Regions from separate parts of the Homo sapiens genome. Here all the other regions are linked to region 1. The links are contacts of gene promoters, found by promoter capture Hi-C in blood cells and fetal thymus (Javierre and others, 2016). All regions are on one chromosome and are shown on one strand. Each heading gives the region's core, a stretch centred on a gene start or on the middle of the fragment in contact. The rest is flanking DNA. Distances are from core to core; before and after follow the strand shown. Region 1 holds the start of IMMP2L (inner mitochondrial membrane peptidase subunit 2). Region 2 has its middle 4.3 kb from the start of SAMTOR. Region 3 overlaps TMEM168 (transmembrane protein 168). Region 4 overlaps LOC107986837.

Region 1 (4,995 bases), core at 2,340-4,839:
GTAAGGCTTTTCTTTAAGAATATTTTCTTGCTTCCACAAAAAATACAAAAGCCACCAAAGATAGAATGATTTTGCCTTGTTAACTTGTAAGAACAATGACACTAGAAGAAACCTATGGGAAATGTGCTTATCTGACCAGGTGCTCATTTTCGGTGGGCTGTCATTTGACTAAAACATCATACTAAACCCTACAGACCACAGCTTATGAGAGAAATGCCACAAACTATAGCAGTACAGTTAATATGCCTATAATCTACTGACAAAACATACTCCTCAGTAAAGTGAAACCAGATGTCTGGTGTGAAATCAGATGTCTGTGAACTTGTCTTTCTCAGTTTCCAGAGCAGTATCAGATATACTAAATACACAGCTAAGCTGTATATTAAATCCACAACTTGGCAAAATCATGACAGTTTGGACATGAAGCATCAGCATTTTTATTGTAATCCTTATAAACCAAAGACATTTCCAAAATGGAAATCCTAAGTTTAAGTACTCAGCTAAATACAGTAATATGTCTTTCTCACTTTAAGAATAGTGTCAGGGCTTTTTAAACACATTATAGAAATTCTTTCCCTTCATTTTTCAAGCTGACACTCTTTATCCAAGGCTGTGGAATGATCTGATAAGGCCACATCAGGTGTCAGTCCTCGTCCCAGAAATTCTAGGATCAGATACACCAGGTGAACCCCTGTGAAAAGCAAATCCCAGGGAGGCTTAACAGCTATAGGAAAGTTAGGCACTACATGGCTTTCCACAATCAAAAGGAAGATCATAGGAAAGTAATGGGTGACCACATAGAAAAACAGGGAGGGAAATTTAAAAGTAAGTACTTCTATGCCAGGCACTGTTTTTTCACACATTCTTTTATATATACTCTTTGTTCTGTTTTGATGGATAAGAAATCAAGCAGCAGAGAAATTTTAATGGCCCAAAGTGACACAGCTAATAAAATAAGAGCCAGAAATCAAGCTCATGTCCAAAAGACTGTAAAAGTCATGCTACTTCTACATGAAGTTGTGGGGTGGAGTGAGGAGGGGTGGTAAATAGCCAAGAAGAAGGAGAAAAAGAAAGAAATTTACAATTTTATCAAATAACAGTGAAATATATATATATAAAACATGTATTATGTTCCACATATGTTCCATATATAATACGCAGTTAAGATGTATACATGTTTAACATATACTTAAGCTGCATATTTAGTATGTGTATATATGGAACAAAAAGTTGAAGAAACAAGTATCAAATTGTTAAGTGGTCATCTGAAAGTGGACTCATAGGAAACTCACTTATTGCCTTTTATACCCTCCCAGATTTAATTCTAAATAACTTTTTTTTGACTTTTTATTACTCTTATAACCAGAAAAAGACAAAGAACTATTCTAGCTTAGATCTTTTAAATGAGGCTAAATGCACAGAAACCCATGCAAGTTAAAAATGGTCTACTTTCGAATTTATTTTTCTAAGTACATCATCCTTTACACTCTCCATGATTCCTAATATTAGGTCCTTCTTATGGAACAACTACAAAAGTTATCCTCATCTAATTATTATACTCGTACACTGGAAAATGACTATAACATTATTCATTATAGGAAACAAATCATCAAGGTCAGCCATCCTTGTAAGTTTATTACTGAAAGTACTAGAAAGGCGGAATAATAATTCTGTTCTCCCACAACACTGTATAGACCTGCAAACCACTATGATCAGTAGTACAGGGAAAGTCTTGTAAATTAACATGTAACTATTGAGAAAATCCACAAAACTGGTGAAAGGCCTACCCCAAAACAGCCATCTCCAATACAATCTCATCATTCTCACCATCCTACTTTTATCAAAGTGCTGATAAAAGTGCGTAGCACATGGTAAGAGAGAATTAGCTATTGAATCAATGAAGGAACCCATTATCAATAAACAATCACTTCCTGTTTTCCATAAATTATGTGGTCACCTATCACTTGAGCACAAACAAATAGGCACGTTCAGGACACAGGCAGCCAGTATCAGAATAGGCAGCCTATCACAGAGGGCAATTCTACTTTTCCTGTGTAAGAATCCAAGAATGCAGTTTTACTACATTCCTGCTTGTAGCTAATCTGAATTTCAACTAATTTAAAACGGTTATTTATATGTGACATATAGGATGCATAATGAGCTCCCAACCTTGTGAGAGGAGCTGTGTTTCATTTCACCATACAGGGGAGAGGGAAGCAGTGTATTAAAGAAGTGATAGAAAAGTCCCACAGAAGAACCAATGAAATAGACCACACTGAAAATCACAGTAAGCCTCAGAGAACTTCAGTGTCCTTTTTGGCAACTTTTCAAAAGTGAATGGAATGCTTGCCAGGAGGTACCAAGAGTGAAAGCCCAGAGAAAAAGGCCCAGCCTGGTCATCTCTCTCCCCTCAAAACATCTTCTTCTGTAAGCTTGAGAGATCCCAAAGAACTTCAACACTTGTAATCTTGTTACTAACTTTATGCTTTGGGGTCCTAAAGGATTTTTTCAGGAGTACCCTTTTAAAATGTAAACATCCCTAGGGGGGTTACTGTTCATTATCAAACAGGACCTGGATTCTTTAGTGCTATGGTCTCAGGGATTAGTCAAAGCTGGCTAATAAGATAGGGGCCGGAGACAGACAACTAGAGAGGACCAATGTTCCAAGGTAAAAACAGGTAAAGGGGAAGTGCAGTTTTCTGTCGGGTCAAGGGGCTAAAAGGGATCCACATGCCCAAGCTGTTAAACTCTATAGACTGTGTGAGGCTGAAAACAGTCCGGGGCCTGGAGCCTGTGACTTTGAAGGTGGGTCCTCCAGTTCCCGATGAAAAGGTAGAATCTGGGCCCAAGTTCCCCACGAGCAGTTCTGGACATCTAGCCCTTCTCTCTCTCGCTCGCTCTCAGGATAAAGTCCTAGGTCCTTCCACCCCTGACCATTCCTTACTTACCCTTTCTCCCGCTCTTCCTCGGTGAGAAGGGGTAAGTGGTTATTTTGTGCCCTCGCCCAATTTGGCCAAAACCCTAAAAGTAAAAAACGACAGACAGACACGTGCTTTAAAATCATGTTGTTCAAGCCTGACGCTCTCCCACCACCTGCCCAACACTTCCAGGCAGAAGGCAGCGCGCCCCCACAGCGCTCCCTCACGGCCAGAGCCGGGGGCCGGACTAGGCCCCTTTGTGAGGACTGGGAGAGGGCGCGTTGTTGGGGCGCCGGCTCGGCGGGGAGGAGCGGGCCAGCTCCGGGCCAGGTGTGCCGCCTGTGGCGCCGGTTTCTCAACCTAGTTAGCCAGTGGCACCAAGAAGAGGACTAGGCTGGGGTGGCCGCCGCACGCGCCTCAGATAAACACGCGCACGCACACATGCTCGCGATCACGCAGGACTCGCGGCCGCGCACCCCTCCGCCTCCCGGCAACGCCCGCCCCGCCGGGGCCGGGGCCGACTCCCAGGGAAGGGTCCCCAGCCCAAGAGACCACCAAGGGTCGGCGGCTACGCGCCCGCCGACCCCTGCCAGCCTCACAGCCCCCCACCCGCCGCCGGACGCCGGGCGCCCGCCCTCCGCACCCGCTGCGCAGCTCAGCCCGGGGGAAGTCCCCGCGCAGACCCCGCCCTCCGCCGGCGGCAAGCTCCGCCCCGCTGCCCCGTCGCGCGCTGGCCGCCCGAAGCTCCGCCCCCGGCGGAAAACTGGTCTCTGGACCGCCCGCCCAGGTCGGGCTCAAAATGCGGCGTGGATCTGAAAGGATCAAACACAACACTAATTCAGCAAGCTATTATTGAGCACTTGCCCTAAGCTCAGCAACGTACTAATGGGGGAGACTACAATAAAGAGCCGAAAAGTCTATGAAACTGTGTCTTCAGCTCTTCCTCTTGTTTTAGAAGCCAGGAAACAGAGAACCCTCACAGTTACTTAAGTACAGGGCAGTAGTGGCAAAGCACCTCACTAGCGATCTCTGGGCAACTCTTCATTTCATTTTTTCCTACTCATGAGCACTCAGGAAAACTATTCAGTTTTGCTGCCTCCAGGTAAAACAAAGTGAGTAACACAGGACAGGCGGTTTACTTGAGAGAAACGGGAATTTCATACTGAAGCTTTTGCCCTCAAATGGTACAAACTCTTTTTTTTTTTTTCCTGAGACGGAGTCTCGCTCTGTCGCCAGAGCGACACTGCAATCTCCGCCTCCCGGGTTCACGCCATTCTCCTGCCTCAGCCTCCCTAGTAGCCGGGACTACAGGCCCCCGCCACCATGCCCGGCTAATCTTCTTGTATTTTTAGTAGAGATGGGATTTCACCGTGTTAGCAAAGATGGTCTCCATCTCCTGACCTCGTGATCCGCTCACCTAGGCCTCCCAAAGTGCTAGGATTACAGGCGTGAGCCACTGCGCCCGGCCGAATGGTACAAACTCTTAACTGGGTTATTACAACCTACAAAGAAACCTTCTTATCCATGTTATTAATTATCCTAATTCAATGTGGTTTAAAATGTTGATGAAAGTACCCAAATCATGGTGCTCCAACAAGCTGGATGCCAACCAGGTACTCGTAAGTACTTGCAATTACAGGTGCGATATTTTCATTCCATATCATCCCAAGATGCCCTTCCTTCACGTGAAGCAGCCAGAAAGATCAACTACCAGATTCCGCATGATTGAGGAATTGATAAATAGAAAGGGAAGACCGAAACCGGCCAAATTTTCCCTTCGAAGTGAAACTTGAGAAACTTGCGTGCATTTTACCTGAGTTCCTTTCTCAGCAGATAAACTGTCAGACCTCCCAGATAGTGTCAAGGAAATGCAACTTTCCAGAACACTACATCTGGACAATGAGGTGCATCTGCTGCCTGTTCACAAACTCCTCTTCCTTACCCCTCCATAATTCCCTGCTATAGAAAGCCCTAACTTTAGTCTCCCTAAGACATGTTTGAGACTGGTCTCCCTGCCAGCATCACCTGCATTAAAGCCTGTCTTCCCTGGCAATACTCGTTGTCTCAGGGACTGGTT
Region 2 (5,195 bases), core at 182-2,681, 1.4 Mb after region 1:
TGATGCCTATGTGGCAATCTATTGTATGAATAGCCTACTATTTCATTAACCAATTCCCAGTTATTGTAGATTTATGTTTTTTCCAGCTTTTTTGTATTACAGATAATGTCATGACAAACACATTTGCACACAAGTATTTGTCCATTTCTTTAATTATACATTCCATCAGGCTAAATTCCTAAAAGTTCAATTTCTGAAGCAAAGGGTCAAACATGTTAGGGTTTTGATGTATATTATGAAATTGCCTTTTCTGAAAGATAGTAGCAGTTTATGCCATGTCCACTAGTACCTATGGGTGTTTATTTCATTGCACCCTTACCAAAGGTAGGTATTACAATTTACAAAGTCATTAATGAGATTTTAAAAACATGTCTATTTTTTAAATAAATATGTGGAATTTCCTGCTGTTTCGTAACTAGCTATTCTTATTGGTATAATATTTAACTTAAAATACCAACGTAAGAATAAATAAAAGGAACTTATTTAAGACTATCTAGTTGTTGTTGTTCAAGCAGATTGAAGAGTCCTACCTTTTAAAATTACTTTTTGACTTCACACTTTCTTGAAAAGCAACCGAAGAAATAACAATTGGACAGCCAGATTTTATTTTAAAGAAAATGAAATCTTTTTATTTTCTTTAAATTTTTTATTTAAAAAATGTTTTATTTAAAATTTTCATTTAAAAAATTTTAAATTTTTTATTATAAAATAAAGATTTTATTTTAAAAATAAAAATAAGATTTATTTTATTTTATTTTATTTTATTTTATTTTATTTTATTTTGAGATGGAGTTTCACTCTTGTTGCCCAGGCTGGAGTGCAGTGGCGCATTCTCGGCTCACTGCAACCTCCGCCTCCTAGGTTCAAACGATTCTCCTGCCTCAGCCTCCCGAGTAGGTGGGATTACAGGCATGCGCCACCATGCCCGGCTAATTCTGTATTTATAGTAGAGACGGGGTTTCTCCATATTGGTCAGGCCAGTCTCAAACTCCCGACCTCAGGTGATCCACCCACCTTGGCCTCCCAAAGTGCTGGGATTACAGGCGTGAGCCACGGCGCCAGGCACAGATTTTATTTTAAAGATGCGTGAATTCAAATGAGGTATAGGCCAACATGTCCTGAGAAATATTTTAAGGTGATTTTTTTTCCACTGACTATCCACCACAGCACAAAAGGGAGTTTATAACTACTTTCCTCCTGTGTAGTTAGCAATATTACAAAAAGCTTTCTATCTGTTAAGGTTGCTGAGGAGTCATAATGGAATTCTCCATTTAAGTGAAACAACAGTCCTAATTGCTGATAAAATGGATTCACTGAAGGAAGCAGGCTTGGTGCCATATTCAATGAGCATATCCTATGCCCAGGAAAATGTCAGCAACTTTCCCCACTTTGTGGTGACAGGTTTTTATTTACTGTAAATATCTTGTTTTAAAAAATTCTCTCATTATTTTAAATGCCTGTTAGGGAAAGAGGATGTTGGAATAAAACACTCTTCACTGAGCAGGACAAACCAGTCTGGGAAGTAGAGGCTTTTCTAATGACCGCTCTAAACCCCTGATAAGTAAATTTCTCATCCTCATTCTTTGCCTTACCTAACCAGCTTCTGTACCTAATTCCTTACACATTAGGTAGGTCAAGTAAGCTTCCTTTGTTCAAGAACCACTCAGTACAGAAAAAATGTTTTTGGTGAGAAAAATACCTTGTCATCTTTGTTTACAGTTATATTCTTTATAAGTAACACAAATTCCTACAAAGGGTGTAAAGAGTCAACATATTGCAGTAATAAAATATGTTCTATTCCCAGTGTGAGTTTGAAAAAATTAATGGGTGATGAAAAGTCAACTTAAAAATCCATATCAAAATCTGGGATGAGGCACTGAGGTAACCCGTAGATTCTGGGTGTGCTTTGTAAAAGTGTTGTACATTTCATTCTGACCCTCTTGAGTGTTGCTGTAGAAGAGAGAAGACTACATAATAGAAGTTGGGGTTCTTGGCCAAATTTGGTGGCTCACACTTGTAATCCAGGCACTTTGGGAGGCTGAGGTGGGAGGATCACTTGAGACCAGAAGGTCGAGGCTGCAGTGAGCCATGATTGTGCCGCTGTACTCCAGCCTGGGTGACAGAGTGGGACCCTGTCTCAAACAAAAAAAAGAAAGAAAGAAAAAAAAGAAATTGGGCTTCTTTGAATAATCTAAGGCATTATTTATTTTTATTCTTCAGTGACTTGGTATTATCTACTTTGCTTTGGCCCTCTTTATTATAAAAATCATAAAAGCAATTAGACTTTAATGTTGCATAATAAAAGTATTAATATTAAACTTCTGTTTCTAAAACATAAAAATGTTAAAACAACAGTGTATGTCAATTGTGCAAAAAGACTTGATCAGCTTTATTATTGAAGATACAGCTGTATTCCAAGCTGGACAAATCTTTGGTTCATGACTATTTAGAAATAGAATCTTTAGGAATTCAATTAAAATGAGGACTGGAAAAGTAAAATCTATGTCATTTTGAAAATATTTACCACTGTTTCCAAAATTCTTACCCATGAATATAAAAATATCCATGAAGTTTAAATGATTTTTTGTATTCAGAATTTTAAAAAGTAGATGTATCTTTAGTTGAGCACATTATAGAGAAATTGTTAAGCCTTTTGTTTTTCATATTTTATTTCAAATCATAGAAACTTTCTTTGGAAAATTCCGTATTTAATGTTTTGATAGAGACAAACAGTGGAGAACTAACAAGAAAAATATTTTTAGTGATATATTTCTATTCAATATGGCAGATTACAACTTAAAAATCCTTCTATTGATTAAAAATTAAAAGGGTTATTTTCTTTAAAAATTTATGTCTTTAACTACTATTTCAATGACTTCCCTGCAATTCATAATTTAACTGCGAACATTAAAAGTATTCAAAATAACACATAGATTTGTTATCTTTCAAAAGTTAATAGACTGGTGTTAACCAAGTGACAATCATTAATTAATGCTTACCTCAAAATACAATTATAAAACATACTATTTTGTGATATACTAATTAATGAAATATATCTGATAATCATAACAGGGCTAATGTAGGAATAGATCTACATAAAAAAGAAGTACACTTCTTCTAAGTGATAATGTCCTTACAATGAAATGTAGGACTAAAATTTTCTGTGTCCTAATTCCAGCCTTGCATTAACCAACAGAGCAAGGTTCTCTGAGCCTTATTTATCCTCTGTCAAATGTAAAATGAAGAGATTGGATTTGACTAGTGTTTTTCAATTTTTTTTTTACTGTGACTCTAGTAAGAAATACATATTACCTGATGGCACAGGACACTTAGACATATACGCTACATGTATATATATATATGTACTCTACATATATATATATTATAAATATATATATATAAATTTATACCCACATATATAATGAGGACAAAAGTTTCACCAAGCAATACTTATCTTCACTAATGCAGTGCATGGTGGTATTTTCCATTCTATTTTTAGTTTTTTAAAACTATAGGGTGTACTACGTTGATTTTATGGCCCTCTAATGAATCACAGCCTAAAATTTATAAAATACTGGCAATTGGAAAGATCCCTTTCAGTCCCCAAACCACAGTAATTCTATGACTCACATTGATTTTGAGAAAGCTTTATGAGATGTACCTTACCATGTTGAGTCTACTCATTCCTTTCAAACATCATTTTTACCTTGGGAGATTTCTTACATTCTGAATGCGGGCTCAGAGAAGTGACCTAGACTCTGCTAACCATAGTCTCTGAATGAAGTGTCTATTTGGAAGAGAGCAAAATGACGAAATAGAAGCCATAGGGAATCTTTTGGCCTGTTGAGGGAGAGTGGAGGTGTAGTTCTTTTAGGATCACCAAGCCCAAGGGTCTACCTTCCAGTGTCTAACATTTGCTTTATAAGCCAAATAATAGGGGCAATGGGTCTTTCCCAGAGTAGTTGCTGGGTCGACTTATGTGGGGATCTGGGCTGCGTAGTCTCCAAGTCTGCCTCTCTGATCCTTCTGGAGATCTGGGATGCCTTTTCTATTTGAACTCGCTGAAGTGAGTTGTATTTTTTTATTGCACAGAGGTGGCTAGTGCTGAGACATTCTGGAAGAGAATTAGGTGATCGAGAAGCAGTGTTTGCTAGCTTTCTCTGTGACTTGAAGTGATCTGCTATCTGCTAGGTTCCTTGGTTTCCTAGCTGTCAGATAATGACGACTTACCATTCCTACCTCACAAAGTTGTGTGAATAAAAAGAAATTACGGACTGAAAGTGTTTCAAAAAGTTAAGAAAGTACAAATGTGAATAAATGGTATACATGTAAATTGTTTCTAAGGGGCCAGAAAAAGTGAAATTTTTCTAAATGCAGGAAGCTAAATTTACACTTCTTTTATTAAATGTACATCAGTCTCTTTTTAGATTTTAATAGTTTGTCACTGACTTCCCATTTTTTTCTTTTCCTGAAGGTAGAACATATTCCCATATTAGCTCTGAAATTACAAGGTTTTATATGTCCAAGTATGAAGTAATCACCATATAATTCCATATAATTCCTAAAGTTGACTGTTATCTCTCCCCCAAAGTTTTTGTAAGATAATTAGAATAAATGTTTTATGAAAAGCCAGATCAAAATTTACTACCATATTTTAATAAACATATTTCTTTTTTAAAAATTATATATATTTAATTATTTTTAAAAAATTTTTCTTTTTAGAGATAGGGCCTTGCTGTGTTGTCCAGGCTGGAGTGTAGCAGCGCAATCATAGTTCACTGTAACCTCAAACTCCTGGGCTCAAGTGATCATCCCCCTTCAGCCTCCTGAGTAGCTAGGACCACAGGTGCATGTCACCATGCCTGGCTAATTAAGTTTTTTTTTCTTTTTTAGAGATGGGGGTCTTGCTGTGTTGCCCAGGCTGGTCTTGAACTTCTGGTCTCAAGGGATCCTCCCTGCCTTGCCTTTCCTAAAGCAATGGGATTACAGGCATGAGTCATTGTTCCTGACCACATGATGTTTTGATATACACAGTGGAATGGTTACTGCAGTCAAGCAAGTTAATATACACATCTTCTCACATAGTTACCTTTCCCTCGTTGTGTGTTAAAAGCACCTGAAATCTATTCTCTCAGCAAATTTCCAGCATGCAGTGCAATACTATTAACTATAGTCCTCATGCTATACATTGGATC
Region 3 (5,301 bases), core at 2,079-4,578, 1.2 Mb after region 1:
TACATGGAATTAGAAATCAATGGAAAGAAATGTGAGAAACTTCCAAATATTAGGATATCACACAACAAACTTATAAATAACCCATGAGTCAAAGAGGAAATTTCAAAGGAAATTAGAAAACATCTCACCAGATGGCATAGTGCTAGCACAATGGTAGACATATAGGTCAATATAACAAAAAAACTCAAAAATACAACCTTACGTTTATGTTTAACTGATTTTAAACAAAGACGCCAAGGCAATTCAATAGGCGAAATGTTAATCTTTTCAACAAATGGTGCTGGGAACAATGAGATCTATATATTAAAAAAAAAAAAACAAACTTAGATCCTTATCTCATACTATACTCAAAATGGATCATACACCTAAATGTAACAGTTAAAACAATAATGCTTTTGAAAGAACTGTGACCTAGTGTTGAGCAAAGAATTCTTAGATAAGATACTAAAAGCAGAGCCCATAAAAGAAAAAGTGGATAAACTGGACTCTGTAAAATTAAAAACCTTTACTCTTGAAAACTCTTCAAAAATTTGTATCATTCAGAAAATAAAAACAGAAGCCACAGACTGGGAGTAAACATTTCCAAATCATTTATCTGACAAAGGGCTCGTATCCAGAATATATAAGGAACTCTTAAAAGACAAATAACCTCAGCTTTAAAATGAGCAAAAGATGTGAATATTTAAACAACAAAGTAAATGGCTAATACACACATAAAAAGATGCTCAACATCATTAGTCATTAGAGACATAAATTAAAACCACAATGCTATCACCTACAGCTAAAGGGATTCTCAAGTAGATCAACTTTAGGAAAGAGTAGAATGGAAGGTGAGAATCAGGAAACTGATTCTCTTAAAATTATCTCTGCTGACAGACTCCTTGGAAAGTTTTTGTGTACCTCCAGTGGTACACACCATATCTGAAGACCACTAGGTAAGAAAAAGTTTGGAGACCAAGAAAATATTCATATTTGGTTAACAGAATTTGAAAGCCTGGAATGGCATCCAGCATGAATGAGGCTGACTTGGAAAAGAAAAAGTATTTAGGGCTGGGAAAGGAGCTAGCAGGAGGAGGGGCAAGGAAGAGGGAGGAAAACTCATGCTTGAGTTTTTGACATCAACAACATAATTCTGACAGTACCTAACACCAGCAAGTAGAGCAAAGTAAGGACAATATCCTCAGGCCACACCCAAGATGTTTTCCTCATTTGGCTGACTCCCACACAGGATCCCTGCCCTAGCCCAGCTGACTAGAAATCTAGCACCATGTCCAGGCAAGTCTTCACATCTCCCTCTTCAAAACACACTTCTAGAAATCACTCAGCAGCAACAAACTGTTACAAAGCAGAGAGCTGCACCAAGCAGAGCTGACTTTCCTCTAGAAATCAGTCAGCAGCAACAAACTCTTACAGAGAGCTGCACCAAGCAGAGCTGACTTTCCTTTATGCCCCACATCCCAGTCTGATGTACACAGATTATAGTATTTATCACACTGTAATCATAATTGTTTGTTTACATGCCAGCCTCTTCCTCCTCCCATTGGAGACTGTGCCACCTTTGACAGACATCCTGAGATCTTCCGCACCCACTATAGTGCCTGGCATATAGTGCATAGTCAATACATGCTCAATTAATGGAAGACTGGGTTTGTTAATACTGCAGATGCAAACTCCAACTGTACAAATGTCTTTGTCTACAAGAACCTTTTAGAAAACATTTCTGGGCAGCAAAGGTACTGTGAAACCCATGTTTTCTTTCTTAGGATAACCTCTAATCTATAATTAAGAACCTGCTATGTTGTTATATATCTGATCACCTTTTATATAAAACCTTCAGAGAAATGGCTGCATAAAAGAAACATGTTACAGTGAGGAGTCCAGGGAATAGACAGAAGTTAAGTAACCTTGTTCCTGCTAGTACTAGTGACTCTGGATGTGTCTTCTTTGGCTTTCAGTTTCCTCATGGGTATAATTAAAGGATCAAAATACAATCTTTAAATACTTTCCAAATGTTAGTATTCTAAGACTCTTTAATCGATGAGTGTTTCACTAATGAACAGTCAGGAAGCGGGAGGCATCTCAACGCTGAGTGTTCATAACATTTTGGTACCTCTTTGCTAGAGATCAAATAAATTATCCTCTTGAAACACATTCAGTGCTTCAATTCCATGAACAAAATTAAGAGCAAACATGAATATCCTTTTGAAATCAGGAACTTGACCTTATAACTTTAATTTCAATTATTGAAGCTAGCATTTTATTACACGTCATTGGGGTTGCTGGACAAACAATAAGCTTACCTGCCAGGAAACTGCTCCCAAAATCGCTGTTGCAAGAAGACTAAAGAACACCAACTGCTCTGAAATCAAGCAAAAATGGCGCATCCCTTTGGATGCCATGATTCTATCAAGGCTATTGTAATCTGTCCTGTGAGTAAAATATACTTTATGGCAGTCATTTAATTTGGTATGGAATCCCCAAAGAGTTAAAAGAAAAATAATATGACAAATCATCCAGAAAATTCCAAAAATGGAAAAGCCAGGTATTACAAAATACCAGAGGTGAGTGTCTCTAAGTTTGAATGCGGAAAGAATAAAAAATGTAAGCTCAATCATTCCAGCAAAAACGACTGAAAGTCTTCTGCAAATTCTTCCACGGTACAAAAAGGGTTTCCATCTTTCAGTTACTGAAAGTCCACTAAAATAAATGTCAAGGAAAGGATCAGTTATCAGGCAAATAAAAAAACACGCAAAAGCAATCGGATTTTTGGGAGTTTCCAATGAGGAAAAAAATAACAAAACTGCAAAAATAACTAAGTTTGGAATAGCTAAGAAAGATTTCATTCTCAGATCAATAATCAGCATAGCCAGAGCTACAACAAGCAAAATGACACTCAGAGACTTCTCCACCAACATAGTTGTGCTGGCAATGGCAAATCCAACAAGCTCCAGAAATTCAACTGTGGTTAGTAAAGTGGGCCGATGACGGACATAACCAGAAATTCTCTCCACCAGAGAGCACAATATCCTTAACACTATGGATGTTAGAAGCAAATATTTGGTTGATTCTTCTTTTACATCATTTTTAAAGGATGAATTATCAAGAAAACATAGGAGGCCAAGCAAGAATCCAAACCAAAGATTGGAGAGACTTAAACTTGCTGCTTCCATTGAAAAATAGTAATAGAGTATGCTGGCGATTCCAAGAACAAAAAGACCAAGAATAAAAATTACCAAAATTAAGGAATTTGCTGTTTTTTCCCATCTTACGTATAGACCTAAGCATATAGCAACCAATAAATTGATTCTGGCTAAATAGCCAAGATACCGCACTGAAGAATGCATGTTCACTTCTCTATTTACTTCTTCCAGTCTTGTCATTGCTAAATAGAGACAATGACTAAAGCAATAACGCAGTGATTTACACATGTAACCAGCAATGTGGGCTTTTCCCTCACGTTACAAAAATTAACCGCTTGTATTTCATCCAGTATATCCAATGTATCCGCAACTCCTATTTCAACATTTTCTCTTGTGGAAATTTTGTTTATAGTGATCTAAAAAGAAGAAAACAATATTTCAGAGTTAATTTTATATAATTTACTCATTATTTTATATAAAGATGCATATAGAAAGTGAAAAAATCCAGTTTAAAAACTGAAATCCAGTTTACAACCTGATTTGCAATATCTTAATGAATACTGTTTCTGGCTTAAAACTTGGCAGTTTATCCAGACAGACATGGCTGTGCTTTCTACTCATCATATGCTATGACTGCATGAATAGAACTGTTCTTCCAGAGATGGTGAAGAATTCACCTAATTCATTCTGGTTTAAATATCTGGTTTTTCAACAACAAGGAAAGGTGAAATGTTCGCTTTAGCTTAGATTGTAGCAGGTTTTGGTACAAGAGAAAGCTACTTAGTTCTTAAAGTGAATGAAGGACTTCATCGTTACCTCTAATTTGAAAAGCACTTGTATATATTAGTAGTAACAGCAACCATTACGACCTGCCAAATATCCCCTACATCTTTTTACAAGCCAGCTCTAGAATGTTACACAAGGTCTTTACATTGTTTAACTAATAAACTTACTAGAATTAAAGTATTAAAGTTACTCAGTCCCTAAAGTTGAGCCATAATTCTCCCTGTACTTTTATCTCTATTAAATTACTTTGATTACTAAACTTGCTTTCCAAATCTAAACACTATCTCTATAGCAAACCAATTCCTGACAAATTCCGAGTCAAAAATGAAAAACTGAAATGCTCACCCTAATAGTCATTATAAAGTAAATGAAGAACTTTTCAATTCTACTTAAACAAACGTTACTACAAGTATTTGTTAGTGGACCCACGAAATTAAAGCTTCCACAAGTCACACCTAAAAAATGATAGTAGTCAAAAAATGATTTAACCATCTATAATAATTCTTCAAAATTTCCTAGTATACTGTTTCAAAAGAACTGATCAATGGTTCACGGTAATGCTATCTAAAGAGAACCCAATCAGATATTTAAAAAGAAACTAGGGCCAGGCACGGTGGCTCTCTCCTGCAATCCCAGAACTTTGGGAGGGTGAGGAAGGTGGATCACTTGAGGTCAGCAGTTCAAGACCAGCCTGGCCAACATGACAAAACCCTGTCTCTACTAAAAATACAAAAATTAGCCAGGTGTGGTGGGAGGCATCTGTAATGCCTCAAGAGGCTGAGACAGGAGAATCGCTTGAACCCAGGAGGCGGAGGTTGCAGTGAGCGGAGATCACGCCACTGGACTCCAGCCTGGGGGATAGAGCGAGACTCTGCCTCCAAAAATAAACAAAAAAAACCCACGAGTTTTTGATTAGTTTATTTGTACTTTCTTAATAGCTGTACACTAAAAGGCTCAAGAGAAACATGAGAACCTGGAATCAACTCTTAGTACTCATCTGGCTGGAGAGGAATGTTACTAAAGCAACCTTAGGGTCTCTGGGAAGTTCCGAGTATTATTACTTATTTTGCTTTTATACGTTCAACAAGCACATTTTTTTTTATTTTTACAACTAAGTCTATTTAAGTATTCCAACTGATTTTCCTTAATTACATCTTTATTCACTCATGTCTTAAGGTACCACATAATGTTAAAGAAAATGTCTTCCTTTGGTATATTTTGGTTTATCTTTTTAACTTGAGTGTGAGAAACTGACAAAATCTGGAATGCATTGAGTTTTTTTTTTTTAAACATCACTAATGTGTGTTATAAAATAATTCAACAAATACGTTAGAATATATATCCTCAAAGAGCTGATGGTACAATCTGGGCTCAG
Region 4 (5,195 bases), core at 403-2,902, 1.6 Mb after region 1:
AAGCTCAAAAGTTAAAAAAAAAAAAAGAAAATCTTTGCTAGGGGTCAAGAGTTTAAACTAGTCCCTGCAAAAATGTAGGGAGGTTACTAACAATTCAGTATGTGCATTTCACAGGGAAATATTAATTCCCCTGTGTAGACCAGGTGCTCATTATGATTAAGAGCTGGTAACCATGGAAACAAACAGCATGAAATTTATAAAATTAAAGACATGCTGGATAGAAAATGCAAATAGCCTAGGACAGTGAATCTTGCCCCAACCAGTCTTAGCTTGATTTCCCTTGAATTGAAAGACTTATGAAATTTCTGTCTGGCCATTTTTTGAGTAAAATCACTCAATTTGAGAAACTGAATTTACACTTTGGATATCTCACTTTGTTCATTTGATAATACCTTTTTGAGTCAATCTAGACATGTTGCAGTGTATATAAGGCTAGAATGTATTGGTTAGCAGTATCTAGGAAGTGGTTACTTTTAAATTGATTCTGGAAGCTTAAATGAGTACTTGAACCTTTTATGTAGACATTTATTGTGAATTTCCAGTTGACATACTGTAAGTGATCAGTCACTTTTAGTTTCTAAATTTCTTTCTTTTGCTAAATCACATAGGTGGTCCAAGTAGAACACTTTATGGTAAAACATCAGTTTCTGTGTCACGGAATGATTTACTTATCTATGAAACGGTGAGTGAGATGGCAATAGTAAAGTTTCTTTACTCTTGCTTGTAATATTTTGATTGTTTATAAATCTATTCCTTGAGACCATTAAGACAACAGACTACTTGTCTGTAAATACTCTAAAGTAATGTTGTTTGAATTAAAAATCTTTATAATTTTTAAAATGACAAAAATCTTACTTTCTGCAAGAATAAGTTTACTCAAGGAGGTTGCCAGATTTTCCATTTTACTTTAAAGATAATTTCTTTATCTTAAAGGTGGAATAGGTTATATTAAAAAGATTGCAACTGGTTCAGTTGAGGAAAAAGTCCGGTACAACACTATAGTTTCATTTGATTTTGATTTGGACTCATTTTAATGCATTTTACGCTCTCGTATCTCAGGAGAGTCAAAATAAGTAATTGACCTCAATCTGACAGCCAGAATGAAGCACTGCTTTTGCGAGCATGCCTATCAACACTCGTGAATGTATTTGTGGTGGCTATATAAGGGAAGGGACATAATCCTTTCATCTGCCCTGCTTCAGTAACTCCTTAATAGAATACCGTACGTATCTTTGGTGACCAGACATTAAAAGGGACCTACACAGACAGTAGAGGATCCAGGGAAGAGTGACAGAGTTTATTCAAGTTATCCAAAATTGGTCCTGGAAGAGTGTTCTCAAAGTGTGTTCTGTGTTTCACTTGCATCCCAATTATATGGGGAATTTATTTTAAAATGCAAAACTTTAAAATAAGTTCTCCTGGTAGTTCTTAGGTTCATTTGGTCTTAGAGCCTTTGCCATTTTATGGAGGCTGATTATTTGGGAAGTGGTGACATAGGGGCAACTGAATGACATTAACCTGACGTTAAGTTAATGATGCATTTAACAAGACCCAGTTAGAATTATTCATCTTGCTTTCCTGGATCCCTTCTCAGTTATTGATGAAGTGGAAAATACAAATACTTTTTACTATTTGTATATGTATCAAATGACATTTTTTCTTATCATTTCTTATAGCCTTTCATTTCTGTCTTTAAGTTTTTTTTATTTTTATTTTTATTTTTTTTTTTTGAGACGGAGTCTCGCTCTGTTGCCCAGGCTGGAGTGCAGCGGCGCAATCTCGGCTCACTGCAAGCTCCGCCTCCCGGGTTCACGCCATTCTCCTGCCTCAGCCTCCTGAGTAGCTGGGACTACAGGCGCCCGCCAACACACCCGGCTAATTTTTGTATTTTTAGTAGAGACGGGGTTTCACCGTGTTAGCCAGCATGGTCTTGATCTCCTGACCTCGTGATCCGCCCGCCTCGGTCTCCCAAAGTGCTGGGATTACAGGCATGAGCAACCACGCCCGGTCCTGTCTTTAAGATTTAATTTTTTAAATATGTAAAACCATTCTAATGATTTCCATCATTAAAAATCAGAACCATCTGATTCCTTGAAGAGAACAGAGCCTTTGCTAGCACTGAGAAGGACTCTGAGTAACAAAATGGACAGTACCTCAGTTATAAAAAATAACAATGTGGATATGAATTTTATGTGGTTATTTCTCATAACAACCTCTGTCAAAGATTAGGACAAAGTAGTAAATGTGAGTCAATGAAATTGATCAGAAAGGTGTTGTGGGTTCCCAATATGTATGTTTCTGGTGACAACATTAACCAAAGATTGAATTTGTAAGGTCTTGGACCTATCTTCCCTGAACATTTCTTCTCTCAGTAGGTATTTGGATGAGAGCTGGATATCCTGGAGTGCTAGTATTCTAAATTGCTGGCTAAGGGCCCATCCATATGCTTTGGAACAGAGAGATAGTTATCCTATTATGAAAGTAGTGAGATAGTTATCCTATTATGAAAATTAAGTAGCTCTAACAATTGTCCTTCCTACATAGATATAGCTGGATAAAGTGGGGCTTGGGCCCAGAATCCTACCTCTTTTGGTTATATCACACTGATTTCTCATACTGTTTTTAGTATTGTAATACCCACATAGTGACAATCCACAAATACTTATTGAATAAGTTAAAAGCTAAGACTTTAAGGTTTTAAGATTTTAGCCAACATAAAGCTCAGTTTGCATCAACATGTATGACATAGCCACCAAAACAGTGATTATGATCTTCGGCTGCAGGAATTGATGTGAATTATCTAGAAGAGGGAGGGAAGCTTTGCTTTGCTATTTCCAGTGTGGGCTATGCCCAGCAGTTTGCTGTTCTCTTATGGGTTCCTATTTTAATAGAAACATTAACAAACTGGATATTAACGGTATAATGATGAGATTAAACTCATTAGTTGAAGAACATAGTTGAAAAACCATGGGATGTAAATGAGAAGACTCAATGAGAATGTCTGCCATTTTCAGTGGCTCATCCCATAGGAGAGACCATAAAAGAAAGAAATTGGACCTGTTCTAGATGGCCAGTGGGGGAAAGTAATGGGCATGTTTTTAGCTTGATAGAAAAAAAAGCTCTTCTAATATTCTAAGAGGGAATTGGCTGCCTCAGTGAGCAGTGAACTCTTGATCAGTCAGAAGGGTAGCTTAATGAACACTTGACTAGGATGTTGTAGAAAGGATTCAGACTTCAAAAAGATAGTCGTATTAGATGTCCTTGAAGCTTCCTTCTAAACCTGGCATTTTCTGATTCTCTTATCTCCTCCCCGCACCCACCCACAAGTCCTGTGCTGGTTGTCTGGTACTCATTACAAGAGCTTGTTTTAAGAATCTCTGAGACACTGTTATTTATCTTTCCAAAGGCTTTATTTTTAGTATTTAAGAATTTCTATATTTCTTTATTTGAAACTAGGAGAAAAATAGACTTTTTTCTACTTCTGAAAACTTTGGTTAATATTTTGTTAACATTTATATATACCTAAATATATATGATAGATTCTTAATATTGTTGTTAATATTTTAACATCAGCCTGTGTAATTGATACTAATTTCATAAAATATCATGTAGGCTACAGTGAACAGATGAAAAATGGGTTTCGTATATTTTATTTATACCAGCAACGGTTTATAATCTGAGGATCAAGATATAAGGTTGATCAAGCTTTTGAATGTGATATGTCCTGAAAGTGGATTTCTAATGGAATACCTACAAAATGGTTTTTTGCCGTGAGTCAGAATGATCTCAACAGTCTTGTGTATATCAAGTCATTGTAGTATACATTTCTGGATGGTTCAATCTTAGGCCAAAGTAGGTTTTCCTATTTCGTCCTATTCTAAACAAGTTCTGTTTTTCTGGGAGATGAGCTATTTTAATTTAATTTTTGAGTGAGTAAATCCCTTAAGCATTGAAAATCAAAGTATATTTGACTTTTTAGCATGTGGGTACCAAAATATGTATAGTGTAAAGATCTGAAAGCACGTTGACACTGCCTATCACATTCTTTAGATGCTCAGCTCTTCAGGGAAGCAAAAACCTGAAAAAGAAAAACAAAGTTAAAGATTAAATATGTGATCAGTACTGGATTATATAAAATGTTTCTCGTTTGTAAATGAAACAATAATCAGTAGACAGGAAAGATTGCAATGACTACAAAAGTTCAAAAGTGAGCAGGTTATTGTTGTGTTCCTCCCTTGTTGAAGCACAACAGTGAGAGGAGGGCTACATTGACTCTTCTCAATCATTTTCTTTTATCCCCAAGTGTCAAATATTTCTTTTACTTTCAGTTGGGATTAAAATAGTATATTCTAGCCACAGTCTTGGTGCTTCCATAAGAAACTACACCTGCTGGGATCTTGTCAGGTCCTCGGTTACACAATTGCAGTACCAGAATTAGGCCTTAGATCTCCCCATACAAGTGTTTTTCCAAAATCCTGAAAGTTTTCAGCCTCAGCCACTTTTCCTCACTAGAATGGAGCATGCATGGTTTGTCTTATGGTAATGAGAAGTGTTATGTGGCATGAGCAATGTTAGGAAGTAAAAGTGCAACTATTTCCTAGACTGAAGTTAGAGTGCTGGCCTACATTATCCAGTGGAAGACAGATGTTCCTATAAAGATGTGTGTTTTATAGATTTTCTGTAAATATGTAATATTTTCTCTTGATTTAGACTATATATTCAAAGATAGTCTTCTTTTTCTGATTGATCTCAAGTGAATGTTAGACATTGAATGTTTGTGTTAACATTTCCTATCCTTTAATATCTTGATGAAGTATTTTATAATTTTTAAAGCAACTCTCTGCTTAAAAGACAAAAGGCTGGGCACGATGGCTCATGCCTGTAATCCCAGCGATTTGGGAGGCCGAGGTAGGTGGATCACGAGGTCGGGAGATCGAGACCATCCTGGCTAACACGGTGAAACCCCGTCTCTACTAAAAATACAAAAAATTAACTGCGTGTGGTGGTGGACGCCTGTAGTCCCAGCTACTTGGGAGGCTGAGGCAGGAGAATGGAGTGAACCCGGGAGGCGGAGCTTGCAGTGAGCCTCGGTCATGCCACTGCACGCCGGCCTGGGCGACAGACCGAGACTCCGTCTCAAAAACAAAACAAAAACAAAAACAGAAAAAAAAAAAAAAGACAAAAACCCCAAAACA

Evidence for each region. Contacts are between HindIII fragments. The CHiCAGO score rates a contact against its expected background, and 5 or more counts as called.
Region 2: a fragment that was not itself captured here is called in contact with the fragment with the promoter of IMMP2L in region 1 in 7 of 17 cell types (non-activated CD4 T cells, total CD8 T cells, total B cells and 4 more); the score reaches 7.8 in non-activated CD4 T cells.
Region 3: a fragment that was not itself captured here is called in contact with the fragment with the promoter of IMMP2L in region 1 in 1 of 17 cell types (non-activated CD4 T cells); the score reaches 5.3 in non-activated CD4 T cells.
Region 4: a contact is called between a fragment that was not itself captured here and the fragment with the promoter of IMMP2L in region 1, in 1 of 17 cell types (naive B cells). The highest score is 5.5, in naive B cells.

The regions. Positions count from the first base shown.
Region 1 is chr7:111,558,903-111,563,897 of GRCh38, forward strand. IMMP2L (inner mitochondrial membrane peptidase subunit 2) reads right to left here and starts at 3,590. Exons shown (of 6, transcript NM_032549.4): 1 at 2,949-3,590. RefSeq lists a silencer at 3,122-3,751. The HindIII fragment of the contact is 1,654 bases long and covers 2,431-4,084 here.
Region 2 is chr7:112,941,617-112,946,811 of GRCh38, forward strand. No RefSeq gene overlaps it. Among named protein-coding and RNA genes, the nearest start is that of SAMTOR, 4.3 kb to the left of the region's middle. The HindIII fragment of the contact is 418 bases long and covers 1,223-1,640 here.
Region 3 is chr7:112,781,398-112,786,698 of GRCh38, forward strand. It overlaps TMEM168 (transmembrane protein 168), which reads right to left. Exons shown (of 5, transcript NM_022484.6): 2 at 2,301-3,556. The coding sequence starts at 3,428. Among named protein-coding and RNA genes, the nearest start is that of TMEM168, 6.3 kb to the right of the region's middle. RefSeq lists an enhancer at 1,134-1,593. The HindIII fragment of the contact is 2,070 bases long and covers 2,294-4,363 here.
Region 4 is chr7:113,122,643-113,127,837 of GRCh38, forward strand. The region is part of intron 2 of LOC107986837; the gene reads left to right. Among named protein-coding and RNA genes, the nearest start is that of SMIM30, 6.7 kb to the left of the region's middle. The HindIII fragment of the contact is 2,327 bases long and covers 490-2,816 here.